Linked DNA regions of Homo sapiens: region 2 is linked to region 1. The links are contacts of gene promoters, found by promoter capture Hi-C in human tissues and cell types (Jung and others, 2019). All regions are on one chromosome and are shown on one strand. Each heading gives the region's core, a stretch centred on a gene start or on the middle of the fragment in contact. The rest is flanking DNA. Distances are from core to core; before and after follow the strand shown. Region 1 holds the start of PRKACG (protein kinase cAMP-activated catalytic subunit gamma). Region 2 overlaps PIP5K1B (phosphatidylinositol-4-phosphate 5-kinase type 1 beta).

Region 1 (3,114 bases), core at 30-2,529:
ATGGGGGGGGGTGAGGGAGCAGCTGGTGTTTCTGTTCCTCCAAATATCTGGGCTTCCTGCTCCCCCAACCCTGGAGGGTGGGGTGAGGATGAAATTAGATACAAGGAACTCTGGGGCCCTCTGGCTGTTCAATCCAACCCTCCCATCCCCCAAACCACCAAAAACAAAAAGGAAAGAAAACCCACAGGGGCACAAGCACACCCCTAAAACTCAGAAAACTCCTTGGCACACTTCTCATTGATGGAGATCCGGAGCTCTTCCTCCTCGTAGTCGTCAAAGTTACTGGCATCCCCAGGGCCTGTGTACTTCGGGATGAAGGGAGCTTCCACCTTCTTCTCATAGATGGCGATCCAGCTGGTTGTGGCGAACCACTTGTGGTTCTTGATGTCGCCAACCCCGTTCCTGAGGTTTCCGAAGCGCTTGGTGAGGTCCACCTGCAGCAGGCTCCGCAGCAGATGCTTGAGGTCAGAGCTGAGTTTGGAGGGAAACCGCACCCTCCCAGAGACGATCTTCTCGTAGATCTGGATGGGCTGGTCGGCGTAGAAGGGTGGGAAGCCCACGGCCATCTCATAGATGAGCACCCCTAGGGCCCACCAGTCCACGGCCTTGTTGTAGCCTTTGCTCAGGATGATCTCGGGGGCCAGGTACTCTGGGGTCCCGCACAAGGTCCAAGTGCGGCCCTTCACGCGCTTGGCGAAACCGAAGTCCGTCACCTGCAGGTAGCCCTGCTGGTCGATGAGGAGATTCTCGGGCTTCAGGTCGCGGTGGATGAGGTCGAGCGAGTGTAGGTACTGGACGGCCAGGACGACCTGGGCGGCATAGAAACAGGCATGGGGCTCGCTAAACCTTCCGACGCGCTGTAGGCGGGAGAACATCTCCCCACCCGGCACGTACTCCATCACCAGGTACAGGTAGGAGTTGTCCTTAAAGGAGAACTGGAGCTTGACGAGGAACGGAAAGTCGATCGCCTGCAGGATGCGCTTCTCGTTCAGTATGTGCTCGACCTGCTTCATCTTCACCACCTTCTGCTTGTTGAGGATCTTCATGGCGTAGTGGCCGCCGGTCTCCTGGTGCCTCACCAGCATCACCCGCCCGAAGGAGCCCATGCCCAGCGTCCTGAGCCGTTCGAACTGATCCGAGCTGGCGGTGTTTTGAGCGGGGTTTCCCCATCTGTAGAGGAAATCTCCTCTGGCTTTGGCTAGGAACTCGTTCACGCTCTCCTCCTGCTCGGTGTCCTTCTTGGCGGGGGCGTTGCCCATGGCGGTGGCGGCGGCAGGGGCGGGGGTCTCGCGGCGGCGGCGGCGGCGGCGGCAGCGGCGGAGATGGCGCCCCCTGGGGCTGGCTGCGCTGGCTGCGGCGCTGCGACCCCCGCCCGGCCTCCGCTTATATTCCCAGCTACATGGGAGGCTGAGATGGGAGGATTTCTTGAGCCTGGGAGGTCAAGGCTTCAGTGAGCCAAGATCACGCCGCTGCACTCAACAATATGGATAAATCCAAAAGGCATTATGCAAGTGAGAGAAGCCAACTCTAAAGGAGACTTACTGTATGAATCCATTTCTATGACATTCCAGAAAAGGCAAAACTATAGTGTGAGAGAACAGATCAGTGATTGCCAGGGCTTGGGGTTAGGGGACGGTTGGACTATGAAGGGACAGCCTGAGGGAATGTGGGAAGTGGTGGGACATGTTTGTATCCTGATTGTGCTGGTGGTTACAATGTATTGGGTGGTGGTCTACATTTGTTTTAAAACTCATAGAACTGGCCGGGCGCAGTGGCTAAAGCCTGTAATCCCAACACTTTGGGAGGCCGAGGCGGGCGGATCACAAGGTCAGGAGTTCGAAACCAGCCTGACCACCATAGTGAAACCCCGTCTCTACTAAAAATACAAAAAAATTAGCCAGGCGTGGTGGCGCATGCCTGTAATCCCAGCTACTCGGGAGGCTGAGGCAGGAGAATTGCTTGAACCTGGGAGGCAGAGGTTGCAGTGAGCAGAGATCGTGCCACTGCACACCAGCCTGGGCAATAAGAGTGAAACTCCATCTCAAAAACAAACAAACAAACAAACAAACACCTCAAAGAACTGTATACTTCCCCCCAAAATTCAGTTTTACTGCATGTAATGTTTTATTTTAACACATACATATGATTTCCTTTCTTCTGTTTGCTTTGGGTTTAATTGCTCTTATTTCCTAAGGTGGGAACTAAGGTCACTGATTTGAAATCTTTCTTCTATTACAATCACTTAGTGCTATAAATTTCCTCCTAAGTATTATTTTTTGCAGCATCCCACAAATTTTGGTATGTTGTATTTTCCTTTTCATCCAGCTCAAAATATTTTCTAAGCTCCCTTTTCATCTTCTTTGACAGATAAGCTATTTAAAAGTATATTATTTCGTTTCCAAATACTTGGGGATTTTTCAAGAATTTTCCTATTGATTTCTGATTTAATTCCATTGTTAGAAAACATACTCTGTGTGACCTAAAATGTTTTACACTTCTTGGGGCTCATTTTATGGCCCAGAATATGATCTATCTTGGTAGATGGCCCATATGCACTTGAGAAGAATGTATATTCTGGTGTATTCTGCTGTTTGAGGATACAGTGTTCTACAAATGTCACTTAGGTCAAGTTGGCTAGTAGTAGTGTTCAGGTCTTCTATATTCTTATTGACTTTCTGTTTACTTATTCTATCAATTATTAAAAACATGCCACAGGAGTTTATGAGAAGTCAAAGTACATAGATGATGGGCCTTCCATCACTCCCCCAGGCCACCATGTCAGCCGCCCCACACACCCTCCAGAAGACTGCCAGCACTCAGCCATCACAGGGTGGGTTCTGAGCTGCTCTCCCCAGTCAATTCTGTACAAAGATTCTGTCCTACATCATAAACACTGAGCTACAGGAATACCCATTTATCCTCCTATTTTCTCTCCATCTTGCCCTTTAAGTTTGACAGCTAATTCTGCCTACCCACCCTGGCTACACCGCCTGTAGCTAGTGCAAGTAAACAACACACTTTCACCTAGCCCTGCAGGCTGAAACCAAGCAAATTGGAGAGGAATCCCTGATTACTTGACTCCAAGTAGAAGGTTTCTATTGTGACTGTGAATTC
Region 2 (3,230 bases), core at 439-2,938, 62 kb before region 1:
TGACTTGTTGATTTGGGAGGGAAGGAATTTCACTGGGGAAGTCCACTAACATAAACCTGCTGCTGAGGACTCATTCACTTCACAGCACCAAGCTGGCCCAGCCTCCCCACAGACAGACCAAACGCCTCTACCACAACCTGCCTTTGCATTTAGTTCATGATAGTTATGGGTGCAGGAGAATTAGGTAAGTGTAAGGAGGGAACTAGGAGACAATGTTAAACTCTCCATTCAGAATAATATTAATCTAAAATGGAATCATTTAATAACCTGTTTTCAAGGATAAAGTAATAAAGGTGACATGTGTAATGAAGTAATGGAGCTCATTATTTTTCCAGCCAGCCCTATTAAAAATTAGTGTGTGGAAGGTCACAAATAACTTAAAAATGACCAGATTTGTTTTCAAAATGAAGGATTTGGCTATAATGCAAATTTCATCCTGAAGGCTACATGGGGAAAAAAATAATGGTAGAGTTTCTCTGTCTTTTCTTTCATTGCTTCTCATCACACTGGAAGAATGGTTCAGACTAAGCACTTTGTCTGGGAGAAGATTTTTTGTCTTTTATTTATGTATGAGTGCATTTCAGTTGGTGTCCTCCTAATTCCAACCACCCTCACCTGCTGCTTTCTGTGTGGTCACTGAGTTGTGACAGGAGAGAGGCCAGGTATTCGAAGGCCAGGTCAAAGCTCATTTAGGGAACCGGTCGAGCCTTCGCCTTTTCCCTGTTCACCCTCCTGCCTTTCCAACCTAAGTGGTAAAACTCATCCTGAAAGAATCACGGAGCTTTGGAGATGAGAGGGAACTTTGGCCATCATGTCATCCAGCCCTTTTATTTATTAAAAAAGGTATTGATTGATTTTAAAATTTATAAATTATTTTTGTAACAAAACTCTATGCCCAGAGTTTAACAAATAGTCGTGTAACATGTGTTAAGAAAAAGAGCAAGCCGTAGTCCACCTCCCCCTACGTCTTCATGTGCAATCACCTTCAACTCTTTGAGCTGATTCCTTTGGCAATTACTTTGGTTTTTCTAAATAACATGCTTATATTGTTATTGCTTGATCTATTGGGTGTAGGCATTAGCTAATAACTGCCCACTATAGAAGACGAAGATTTAGCTGTCTTTTCTCCACCCGACACATACCACGTATGTGTACTGTTCCCACCCCCTCCTCCTACACCCTTCCAGTTTCCCTGTATAGTTACATCTTGACTGTAGTCCGATCGATATTGAGTGTTTTATTATGGCTTTGTGAATAGTGTCATATACTATGTTTCAGTTTCCTTTCCTGTGTGACTTTTTGTTTTTATTGTAATAAATGACTGCCTTGTTCTTCGGTTTGCTTAGTTTTCTGTGTATTTTTCCTTAATAGAACCCTAAGCTTTCCACCAGTGTCTTCATTTCTTCTCAAACCATTTAAGTGCATGAGGTTCTGTTCCTTTTATTGTCTTGCAGAAGTTTCCGCCAGACACTTCTGACCAGCCTGGACTGAACTGGTTGCCCTCTAGGACCTGATGTACAAATGTTACTTTGGGGCCTCTCTGCTCCATCATTCTGGGGATTCTAGTAACCTCTTGTCTGTATCAGTTCCGTTGTTTGTCATCTCCTACATCTTCCTCTTTGCTTCTTCCTCTTTCTTGGTTTACTCCCTCATTTTGGTGGAACACATTTTCCAGAAGAAAATCCTCCAGTATGAAAAATATTCATTGCAGGCAAAATATTTGAGATCTTGCATGTCTTAAGTCTTTATTCTAACCCTAACACTTGATTGATAGATTAACTAGTATAGAATTCTAGATTGCAAATATTTTGGATTTTTTTTTTCAACATGGTGAAGGCTTGGCTCCATTGTCTTCTAGTTTCCAATTACCATTGAGAAATCCAGTGCTGTTCTGATTTCTGATCTTCTGTAAATGGCTTGCTTTCTTTGCCTGCCTGTCTGCCTGTCTGCCTGCCTGCCTGCCTGCCTTCCTTCCTTCCTTCCTTTCTTCCTTCCTTTCTTTCTTTCTTCCTATTATTATTATTATTATTGCAGAAACCTGTAAACTCTTTGATTTTCTCTCAGAGTCTCAGTATTTCATGATGCTAGGCCTTGGTGCAGGTCTATTTTCAGCCAGCATGCTAAGCACTCAGGGGACCTTTTCAACCTGCAAACTCATGTTTTGAGTTTGGGGAAATTTTCTAAACTATTTTCTTATTTCCTCCTCTCTATTTTCTTTTTCCTTTTTGTAATTCCTTTTATGCATACAGAATATCCTGGATTTGTCTTCCAATTTTCTCTACTTTTCTGTCTTCAGTCCCATCTATTTATGTTTCTGTCCTAGTTTCTGAGAGATTTCCTCAACTTCATCTCCTAATCCTTCCACTGAGTTTTTAATTTCCATTACCATGTTTTATAAGAATTCTTTTTTTGTTCGCTGAGATTTTATTTTTTAGCAATCTTTCCTTTTTTCATGATTGTAATTTCTCTTTTTTCCTGAAGATATTAGGATTATGTTTTTTGTTTTGCCCTGAATTTTGTTTCTTCTCCCTTTTTAGTCTCGGTTTTCATCCAGGCTGCCTTTTTCTCTTTGTAGTCTACATGTTCTATACTGGAGGTTTTCCTCAGATTTTTGGAAATCTTCATTTGTCTGCTCAACTAAGGCTTGAGTGGGAGACTAGAAAACTGATTAGAGGCCAGGTGTGGTGGTTCACACCTATAATCCCAGCATATTTGGAGGCCGAGGTAGGAGGACTGTTGGAGCCCAGGAGTTCGAGACCAGCCTGGGCAATACTAGTGAGACCCCATCCCTACAAAAAAAATTAAAATTAGCCAAGTGCAGTGACACACCTGTAGTCCCAGCTACTCAGAGGCTCAGATGGCTTGAGCCTGGGTGGTTGAGGCTGCAGTGAGCTGTTATTGCACCATTGTACTCCAGCCTGGGCAACAGAGCAAGACTCTGTCTTAAAAAAAAAAAAAAAAAAAAAAAAATCCCTGACTGGAAACTTAAGCACTTGAGCAGAGCTTGTTGACCAGCAAGCTATTGAGCTGGTCAGACTCCCTATAGGAGATGCTTCCAGTTTCTTGCTTGGAGGAGAAAGGCCTGGCTGTCAGCCTTCTGGGACATCTGGCAGGAACAGGTGTCTTAGCATCTAGTATATACATATTTACTTCCTCTCTTTCTTTTACCTCAATTGCTTCTGGTGTCCCTGGGTCCACACATCCTGTTCTGTGTTTTCCGCAGGGAGAAA

Evidence for each region. The method cuts DNA at HindIII sites, captures the fragments that hold promoters and counts their contacts. A contact is called where the count stands out against the background at its distance.
Region 2: a fragment that was not itself captured here is called in contact with the fragment with the promoter of PRKACG in region 1 in 1 of the 25 tissues and cell types used here (hippocampus).

The regions. Positions count from the first base shown.
Region 1 is chr9:69,012,834-69,015,947 of GRCh38, forward strand. PRKACG (protein kinase cAMP-activated catalytic subunit gamma) reads right to left here and starts at 1,280. Exons shown (of 1, transcript NM_002732.4): 1 at 1-1,280. The coding sequence starts at 1,259. The coding sequence ends at 204. The HindIII fragment of the contact is 11,337 bases long and covers 1-3,114 here.
Region 2 is chr9:68,950,861-68,954,090 of GRCh38, forward strand. The region is part of intron 14 of PIP5K1B (phosphatidylinositol-4-phosphate 5-kinase type 1 beta); the gene reads left to right. It overlaps LOC101927069 (a long non-coding RNA gene), which reads right to left. Exons shown (of 3, transcript NR_110647.1): 3 at 2,228-3,230. Among named protein-coding and RNA genes, the nearest start is that of PRKACG, 62 kb to the right of the region's middle. RefSeq lists an enhancer at 1-222. The HindIII fragment of the contact is 9,571 bases long and covers 1-3,230 here.